3 separate regions of the Homo sapiens genome follow, and all the other regions are linked to region 2. The links are contacts of gene promoters, found by promoter capture Hi-C in blood cells and fetal thymus (Javierre and others, 2016). All regions are on one chromosome and are shown on one strand. Each heading gives the region's core, a stretch centred on a gene start or on the middle of the fragment in contact. The rest is flanking DNA. Distances are from core to core; before and after follow the strand shown. Region 1 has its middle 24 kb from the start of LINC00525. Region 2 holds the start of LINC02902 (long intergenic non-protein coding RNA 2902). Region 3 overlaps TNS3 (tensin 3).

Region 1 (3,336 bases), core at 230-2,729, 82 kb before region 2:
CTGAGGTCAAAGGCCAGCCAAGGCCAGGCTGCTGGAGGCAAGGGCAAGTGAGAAGGGGCAGCAGGTGGGGGAGGGTCTGGTGGAGGGACTCAGGCTCTGTCCGTGTGGGCTCTGCAAAGAGCTCTCCGCTGCTTGTTGAAGGCAGAGGCAGAGACCCTGAGGAGGCTGTTGCCTCCTCACACTCAGGTGTGAATGTGGCTTGTGGCTTAGGCCCACAAGAAGGGTGGGGCAGTCCCCAGAAATGTCCAAGTCACTCACTACGGTCACACATCGTATAGCATACAAGTCAGATTCTATTTAGAAGTTTAACAACTCAGCCACTGATGTGATTATTGTTCAGTCTTTGGTTTGTGAGGCTCATGGAGCCGGTTTCTTGTTAAACACTTTACAAAAGGTGGAGCCACATACAGGAGCCATAAGACACCACAGAGGGGGAAACTCAGGGCACCTTTGATCCAACTGCTCATTTTACAGACAAGGAAAGTACGACTCTGGGAGATGGCATGGTTTCCTAAAGCCAGGCCGTGATTCTCGTGCTTGAATTTGCACAAATGCCACCTGGGGCTTTTGGTAAAATGAAGATTAGAATTCAGCAAGTCTGGCATGGACCTAAAGTTGTGGACTTTCTAACCAGCTCTCCAGAGATGCTAAGGCTGCTGGTCCGGGGACCACACTTTGAGCAGCCACAGTCTGGACTGGATGGGAGGCTGCAGTGAGAGCCTGGGGAAGTGTGGTTTAACATTTTGAATCAGGAAAGCTATGGGCTGTAGGATGCAGACACCAGTCTTGCTACACACCTGAAGATGAGGGTCTGAAACCAGGGAGGGCGAAGGCTGTGAAGCCCAAGTGAAAGATGGACCAGCCCCCACATAATTGAGGCAACTTGCAGCATATGTGAAACGCTAGGAACATCATCATGGGACCGGAGGACAGGTGTGGCCTAAAAGGTTCCTCACATGGTCTCAGACAGGGCAGGGGATGGGAGATACTCAACATCCATACCCTTAGCCTGTGGCTCAGGACCCGGAAATTGGAACAAGCTGGGCCACTGTGAACAGCTCAAGACTGAACATTAAAAAGGCTCCGCTGGTTCTGTGTTTCCCACGAGAGAAGGGCAACATGAGCTGAAGGCAGATGCCCTTGTGTCCCTGTTGCCACTGTCTGCCCTGCAACAATGAAAGAATGTCAGCTGTGCTTTTGGCAGACCCCAAAGCCCAGCCTGGAGCATTTAAGTTGCACAACGGTCCTGCTTTGTCAGATTGTGACTGAGGCAGAGGAATGGTTCCCTCCCTCTGGGCTTGTACAAAGAGGGAAAGGATGGAGGTGGGAGCTGAAGCCTCCCTCCAGGTCAGGACCTGAGCACTGGCTGCAGGGAAGTCTGTCCTGCTGCCAGCTGTTCAGACATGGAGGCCCCTCTGTGGGTCCCAGTTTGCTCCCCTCACTTGCTCCCCACATCCCTTCTCACAGTTGGCACCCCAGGCGGACAGCCCTTGGTCAGATGGGCCTTGTTGGGGACTAATTATTTTAAATGGCTAAAGTGAAGGAGTGAATGAGGAGTAAGGAGAAATTGAGGGGAATCCCCACAACATCTCTGCAATCTGCAGAATAATGACCCCCAAAGATGTCCATGTCCTGGGCCCTAGAACATGTGGGTACGGCACCTTACATGGCAAAGGGGACATTGTAGATGGGATTAAATTAAGGGTCTTGAAGTAGATTGTCCTGGATTGTGGGGCTGGGCCCAATGTCATCACAGGATCCTTATAAGAGGGAGGCTCAGAGTCAGAGTGGGAGATGTCACAATGGAAGCGGAGGTCAGAGAACAGAGGGAGAGGGATGTGAAGATGCCGTGCAGCTTGCTTTGAGGATGCGCGAAGGAGACACAACCCAAAGAATGTGGATGGCCTCTAGAAGCCGGACAATGCTGGGCAATGGATTCTTTTTTAGAGCCTCAGAAGGAGCACAGCCCTGGGGGCCTTTCTCATCTCCAGAACCCTAAGACAATGCAGTTGAGCCGTCTTAAGCTACTAAATTTGTGTTCCTTTGTTATAGCAACAATAGGAAACAAATAGAATGTCATGATTTTCTAGGATGAGGCCAAGATCATGAGGACTCAGCTATGGCGGGTAGGGGGCTTTGAAACTTGATGCTTCCCCAGTCCAGGGCATGTTCTCAGCAGCCCAGCAGCCAACTCGCTGATTCGTAGAGAGCCCTAATTCCTGCAGGCATTCATTTGTCTCGTTTAAGAGAAACGCATCTCTCTCTCCTGAACCCTATCAACCCTCAGAAAACAGTCTATTAGAAATATGAGACATCAGCCGGGCGCGGTAGCTCATTCCTGTAATCCCAGCACTCTGGGAGGCCAAAGCGGGTGGATCACAAGGTTAGGGGTTCAAGAACAGCCTGGCCGAGATGGTGAAACCCCATCTGTACTAAAAATACAAAAATTAGCCAGGCATGGTGGCGGGCACCTGTAATCCCAGCTACTCTGGAGGCTGAGGCAGAGAACCCAGGATGTGGAGGTTGCAGTGAGCCAGCTGAGATCACACCAGTGCACTCCAGCCTGGGCGACAGAGTGAGACTCCGTGAAAGAAAGGAAGGAAGGAAGGAAGGAAAAGAAAGAAAGAAAGCAGGGAGGGAGGGAAGGAGGGAGGGAAAGGGAGGGAGGGAGGGAGGGAAAGAAAGAAAGAAGGAAAGAAGGAAGGAAGGGAGGGAGGGAGGGAGGAAGGAAGGAAAGAAAGAAAGAAGGAGGGAGGGAGGGAAGAGAGGGAGGGAGGGAGGGTGGAAAGAAAGAGAGAGAGGGAGGGAGGGGAGAGAGAGAGGGAGGGAGGGAGGAAAGAGAGAGAAAAAGAAAGAAAGAAAGAAGGGAGGGAGGGAGGAAGGAAAAGAAAGAAAAGAAAGAAGAAAGAAAGAGAAAGAAAGAAAAAGAAAGAGAGAAAGAAAGGAAGAAAGAAAGAGAAAGAAAGAAAGAGACATCTTGGCAGTGGAAGGCAGTGGCCACGCCTTCCTGCTTGAAGTCTGGGCAACCCTCTGTGTCCATCCTGGAGAAAGGAGCCCTTGAGACCAGCATATTCTTAATGTGTTGCCTGCTCATGGTGAGAAGATATTCAGGAAAAAGAAGCTCACGCCTTTGTTTCCCCTCCACTCTTCACTCTCCCATCCAGAGAAGACACGCTCTGTAGGTTAGAGCGGGCAAGCATGGGATCCCACAGCGTAAGGATGAAAGTGCTCTGTTGGAATTAAGCACAGAGGAGTACACATTGTGGAAGCCACTAAATATAAGTGACACAAGTAACCAAGACTGCTGGCTGCCCTTCCTGTCTACTCTCCCTTTTC
Region 2 (3,307 bases), core at 736-3,235:
TGTGTGGCAAGCAGCATGCACAGTGGGCTACTGTGAAAAGACGCATGTGCTCAAGTGCATGTGTGTACAGAAAGAGACGTCCAAGGGTATCAACAACACCTTAGTGAGAATATCTTGAGGCTCTTGAGACAGGTTGACCATTTTCTTTCTTTTTTTTGCGGGGGGGGACGGAGTCTTGCTCTGTTGCCCAGGCTGGAGTGCAGTGGCACGATCTCCACTCACTGCCACCTCCGCCTCCTGGGTTCACGACATTCTCCTGCCTCAGCCTCCGGAGTAGCTGGGACTACAGGCGCCCACTACCACGCCCGGCTAATTTTTTATATTTTTAGTAGAGACGGGATTTCACCGTGTTAGCCAGGATGGTCTCGATCTCCTCACCTCGTGATCCACCTGCCTCGGCCTCCCAAGGCCCTGGGATTACAGGCGTGAGCCATCACGCCCGGCCATTTTCTGATACTTTTCTTAAGGCTTGCTAGTACCTTCAGGCTGCTGTAACAAAGTACCATGGACTGGATGGCTCGCACACAACAGAAATTTATTTCTTGCAGTTCTAGTGGCTGAAAGTCCAAGATTAAGGTGCCAGGACATTCGCTGTCTGGGGAGGGCCCACTTTCTCGTTCATTGATGATGCCATCTCCCTGTGTCTTCACATGACAGAAGGGGTGAGTGAGCTCTAAGAGCACTTATCCCATCACGCAAGTCGAGCACTGAGAAGCTATGCAGTCCCTGAAGGCCCACTCCTGGACAGAAATCTCCGTGTTTCTCTTTGTTCTGGTCTTGACTGAATCTAAACAAGTGAAAGGCAGTTCTTGAGCCTGTGTAACCCCCTAACCTGGCCCAAGTTCCAAACACACCTGGATCTTCGCCTTTTTCATCTGTTAATTGTGGCCAATAAAAATACCTTCCTTGGCCGGACGCGGTGGCTCACGCCTGTAATCCCGGCACTTTGGGAGGCCGAGGCGGGCGGATCATGAGGTCAGGAGATCGAGACCATCCTGGCTAACACGATGAAACCCCATCTCTACTAAAAATACAAAAAATTAGCCGGGCGTGGTGGTGGGCACCTGTAGTCCCAGCTACTCGGGAGGCTGAGGCAGGAGAATGGTGTGAACCCGGGAGGCGGAGGTTGCAGTGAGCCGAGATCGCGCCGCTGCACTCCAGCCTGGGCTACAGAGCGAGACTCCGTCTCAAAAGAAAAAAAAAAACTTCCTCCCAGGTTTTAGTCGTTTTTTCCCCGGCACCCCTGCTTGCCACGTGGTAAATGTTCAATACAACTAATATCAATAATGACTCAAGTTTATTGATTACCACCTCTCTCTTTCCTCCATGGAGTGCTTACTGGGAGGATGGAGTCTCTTGGGGTGCGTGGCTTTCCCATACATCAGCATCAGCCATCGCGAGACCCCACGGGCCAGCAGTGTGGACGGGGAGACAAGTGAGGCCTCCCAGCCAGAACAGCTCAGCCTGCCAGGAGAAGCAGAAACCCCCCAAAGTAATCACTTCTCGAGTGCCTTCGAGACCCCAGATGTTGGGAAAACAACTATTTTCCCTTGTGTAAGACATGGCCAGTTTCTTTCCATCTCCTAAACAAATCAAATACAACCCTGAGCCCTCCTCCTTCCAGCCTGGCAGAAAATCCAGCCTTGACATTCTGTGGACTCTCTCTGCCCCACAGGGAGTTACCAAAGCCCTGGGAGCTTTTTCAAATTTTGATGGATAGCAAACATTTTAAAAAAAGACAAAAAATCAAATTATCATGAAGTGGACACGCCCATGTAACCACTTCCCAGGTCCAGAAAGAACAACAGTCATCCAGGACCACCCCCACATCCCTCCCAGCATCCACACCTCCCAGGCCCCACAAAGACCACTGTCCTGACCGCTGCCTCCCTCCCTGGGGCCCGGCCAGAGCCGTCTTCCTTCTGTTGACTCTGTTGGTGCCATCCTCATCCCACTGCCCGGGTGACTCGTCTGCCAAATGCAAGAATCGAATGGGGAGAGGAGTCTAGCGTACCCCCTGAACCCTGAGCCCCAAAGCAGGAGTTTTAGCCACATAGCTTTGGGTTTTCCCAGGATCCCTCGGGTGCCTGGGGCGCAGGATGCCAGGGTATAGGAGCTCTGCTCTCATGACGGGTGAATCCCCTGGTTCTCCTGTAAGTGCAGAGATGCTAGGGTAGTTCCCACACTCAAATATTCCCCGAGCCAGGGCTGGGCGCCTGTGGGAATCCCAGCAATCCTACAGTTTCACTGAAGTCCTATAATTTCCCGTACCCTGCCTCTATTTCAGGGACCTGCTGCTCAGAATGTGGAAATGCAGATGTGGTTTGCTTGTGTTGCCATTGTTCTCGTGAGCTGTAAGGCAGTGATTACAGGCTCCGTGGGCGGCAGGGAGCAGCCAACTGGATTGACGGCACATTCTTAGCTTATTTTAAAATCAGTAACAGCATTAATAAAAATCCTGTGCCTTCCCATTTACTTTTTCTTCCAAAAGAAAAAATACTGTACTTCCTAGCAGTCTGTGGCTGGAGTGGGAAGAAAGGAGAAATCATTTGAAAGTGTGAGGAATATCAGAGGAAATTTTAGAAAGGACCCTAGGCCATCTCTAGCTTTCTCATAGCAGTGACCCTGTTCCTCCCCCCAGATTGGGACACTTTAATTTTTTTTTTTTTTTTCAAGACAAAGGAGTCTCGCTCTGTTGCCCAGGCTGGAGTACAGTGGTGTGATCTCGGCTCATTGCAACCTCCACCTCCCAGGTTCAAGCAATTCTTGTGTCTCAGCCTCCTGAGTAGCTGGGATTACAGGTGTGTGCCAGGACACCCAGCTAAGTTTTTGGTATTTTTAGTAGAGAAAGGGTTTCACTGTGTTGGCCAGCCTGGTCTCGAACCTGTAACTTCAAGTGGTCAGCCCACCTCGGCCTACCAAAGTGCTGGGATTACATGCGTGAGCCACCGGCCCGGATGATTCACTTCTTAATAAATCATCCAACCCAATGATTTGGTTCCAAAAGAAACAGATAACATTCAAACACTGTTTCCTCTAGTTCATACTGTAAGACAATGTATTTTAGATACATTTTGCTTGAAATCCACAAACTTGTCAAATACCCACCTGGGTAGAGGAGGACAGCAGAACTGAAGGGCAAGAGGGCTCAGCCAGACTTCCCTCCCCGAGCTCCCGGGAGAAGGTTAATCACTTCGATCTAAACCAGGCAGGGCAGAGACCTAGGAGGCAGGAAGTCAGTTTAAAGGATGTGACATTGGCATTTGCCCAGCGGGTGATGGGAGAGGGAGGTTGAGGTCGTAACACT
Region 3 (3,192 bases), core at 546-3,045, 130 kb after region 2:
TTGGGCAGCTGCAGTGGCACCCAGGGAGTTCCCACCCCAACTCAGAAGGGGTGGAGCTCCCACCGGCTCCATGGAGAGTGCAGCCCCAGCCTCACCTCCCTGCTGCAGCCAGCGTGATGGTAGCAACCGCTGTCATCAATAGTATATTTCCTTTTCTTCTTTCCTGAACTTTGTGCTATTTTTTCAGAAAATTTACTTTTACATATGTCACATGTCACATTACACTATTGTTTAAACAGTTAATTATCTTTTGGTGAGCTTTAAATAATAAGAAAAACTCATAAATTTACCTGTGTAATTAGCATTTCTGGTGCTCTTCATCTGTTGGTGTAAAGCCATAATTCCATCTGCCATGTCCTTTTTGCCCAAGCACTGTCTTTAATATGTCATAGGTGTCAGCTGGTGATGATTTTTTTTGGGCTTTAATTGTATATCTTTTTTTGCATATTTTAAGAAGTTTTTGGTTCACTTTTATTTTGAAGAGCTATTTTTATTGGGTACAGGATTCTAGATTGACAAGTTTTCTTTCAGTATTTTGTTTTATTCTATTTTGTTTATTTTTTTAACTTTTAGATTCAGGGTACATGTGCAGGTTTATTATATAGGTAAATTGTGTGTTGTGGGGGTTTGGTGTACAGATTATTTCCTCCTCCAGGTAATAAGCGTAGTACTCGATAGGTAGTTTTTCAATCTTCACCCTCCTTCCACCCTCCACCCTCAAGTAGGCCCTGGTGTCTGTTCCCTTCTTTGTGTCCATCTTTCAGTATTTCCTATTATACTGCTGTCTTCTCACTTATATTTTTTAAAACAATGAGAAACCTGTTATCCTATTGGTTGGTTCCCTGCATGTAATGTGTCTTTTGGCCCCGTGGTTGTTTTTAAGATCTTTCTCTTTGTTACTGGGTTTAAGCAATTTGATTATTGTATGCCTTGGGGTAGTTCCTGTCACATTTCTTGTGCTAGAAATATATATATATATATATATTTTTTTTTTTTTTTTGAGATGGAGTTTCACTCTTGTTGCCCAGGCTGGAGTGCAATGGCGCGATCTCGGCTCACTGCAACCTCCACCTCCTGGGTTCAAGCGATTTCCTGCCTTAGCCTCCCGAGTAGCTGGGATTACAGGCACCACCACCATGCCCGGCTAATTTTTTGTATTTTTAGTAGACACGGGGTTTCACCGTGTTGGCCAGGCTGGTCTGGAACTCCTGACCTCAGGTGATCCACCCGCCTCTGCCTCCCAAAGTGCTCGGATTACAGGTGTGAGCCACCGAGCCTGGCCAAGAAATTTCTTGAGTTTCTTGGATCTGTGGGTTTATAGTTTTCCTCCTGGTTTGAAAAAGTTTCAGCCATTATTTTTTCAAATATCCCCCCTTCCCTGCCCTTCTCCGTCAGTCTCCATTACACATATGTTATGTTGGTTAAAGTTCTCCCACAGCTTACTGATGCTTGTTTATTTGTTTATTTAGGTTGTCTCATCTCTGTGTGCTTTGCGTTGGGAGGTTCGTACTGTGATGTCTTCAAGTTCATTCACCTGTGCTTCTGCAGGATCTAATCTGCCAGTAATCGCATCCAGTGTATCTTGCACTGTATTCTTACATTTTCCTCAATGAATGTTTGATTTGGATCTTTTTATGTTTTTCAGATCTCTACTTAACTTTCTAGCATATAGAATAGTTATTATGATGGACATTTGGGTTATATAAAGCTGTTATGACCTTTCTTTCTCTTGTGGACATAGGCTTTTATTTCTCTTTAGTGTAAATAAGAATGGAATTGCTGAGTCATAGGTTAGGTGTATGTTTAAGTTTATAAGAAATTGTCAAACCATTTTCTAAAGTAGTTGTACCATTTATTCCACATTCTAAATACCATTTCATCTTTTCAAATAAATTTAATTATTCCAGTGGGTGAGTAATGGCCTCACTGAATCCATATGGATATTAAGTACTGATAGAATACACGGTCACATATCAGCAAATAGACATGATTAGTGCTTGACTCTAAAAGCAAATTGAATTCTTATAAGGTTATCATATAGCTGAGAGCCTTGGCTCTACAAACATGAATAGGTAGCTGAGTGGTTAGTTTTTCCAAGTGCTAATGCTTGTAATTGTGTTTGAGGAAGAACCACATGTGTATCACAGGCTGGACTGTCTCTTCTTCTGCAGGAGAGCTCAGAGAGGCTCAAGAGCTTAATGGTGATTCTGGAACACCTTTGAACCAGGAAAGCCAGTTGACTTCCTCATAACATAATTATGCTGTTTAGCTAATTACTTTTTCCAGAAGAAAAAGGGTTGAGAGTCTAGAAGTGTATGTGGATTACTTTGTCACAGAAGTAGGTGGCTCTACGGCTGAAGTCTGGAAGGGAGTGCATTTTCACATAATGATGTTGGTTGATGTAATGTTTCTAGGCACCCCATGTGGTGATTGATGAGTTGGGTGAGAGTGAACGTCCGTCTAGGACTCTGGAATTGGGAATGCTAACATGGTATCCGTGGGTCGTCTTGGGAATTTTAGCATCACCAAGATGGTTTCTTGTTCTCTGTTTGCTTGGTAAAATTCCTGTTTTTGCTCTTTACAATTCCACTAGATTTATTATTTCCCTTAAATGAAAAGGAAAAAGAAACAAACTATGAGATGAAACGTTGACAATTTCTTCCTTTACTTTTTCAGCCGGAAGAATTAACCTCGAGTCTGCACGCTTTTAAGAACAAGGCCTTTAAAAAATCCAAAGTGTGTGGAGTTTGCAAACAAATTATTGACGGTCAAGGTATTTCATGCCGAGGTAAGTCTGTGTTTATGATTCTCTCACTGATTAATCCAGAGCAAAACAAACAAGAAACAAAACGAAAACTTTTTTTCAGGAGTTTCCGAAAGTTAAATCATGGAATTCCCCTTCTTAGTTTATATGTCCCCCAACCCCCTACCCCCTTACTTAGCAGGGGCCAACCGTATTTACATAGATAAGTGCTCATGAGGACATTTTTACAGAAAGAGCAGAGTTTCCCGATGGGAGAGGAGGCAGCAATTTGTAAATTAATCATTTATTCTCAGGTCTGCTCTGAAGTGTCAGTAACTCAGGTTGTTTAGTTTGACTTTCAGATCTGTTACTCAAGTTTGCGAATGAAATGTTTCTATCTTTAGATTTCGGGTTCATTTTGGTATGGCCCCTTTCAGATCCTGTCACTA

The links. Contacts are between HindIII fragments. The CHiCAGO score rates a contact against its expected background, and 5 or more counts as called.
Region 1: a fragment that was not itself captured here is called in contact with the fragment with the promoter of LINC02902 in region 2 in 4 of 17 cell types (total B cells, naive B cells, M1 macrophages and 1 more); the score reaches 23.3 in total B cells.
Region 3: a contact is called between a fragment that was not itself captured here and the fragment with the promoter of LINC02902 in region 2, in 4 of 17 cell types (total B cells, naive B cells, M1 macrophages and 1 more). The highest score is 17.2, in total B cells.

Annotation. Positions count from the first base shown.
Region 1 is chr7:47,735,653-47,738,988 of GRCh38, reverse strand. No RefSeq gene overlaps it. Among named protein-coding and RNA genes, the nearest start is that of LINC00525, 24 kb to the left of the region's middle. The HindIII fragment of the contact is 4,204 bases long and covers 1-3,336 here.
Region 2 is chr7:47,653,922-47,657,228 of GRCh38, reverse strand. It overlaps LINC02902 (long intergenic non-protein coding RNA 2902), which reads right to left and starts at 1,985. Exons shown (of 3, transcript NR_171030.1): 1 at 1,881-1,985. The HindIII fragment of the contact is 4,908 bases long and covers 1-3,307 here.
Region 3 is chr7:47,528,632-47,531,823 of GRCh38, reverse strand. It overlaps TNS3 (tensin 3), which reads left to right. Exons shown (of 31, transcript NM_022748.12): 2 at 2,677-2,788. Among named protein-coding and RNA genes, the nearest start is that of TNS3, 52 kb to the left of the region's middle. The HindIII fragment of the contact is 5,206 bases long and covers 1-3,192 here.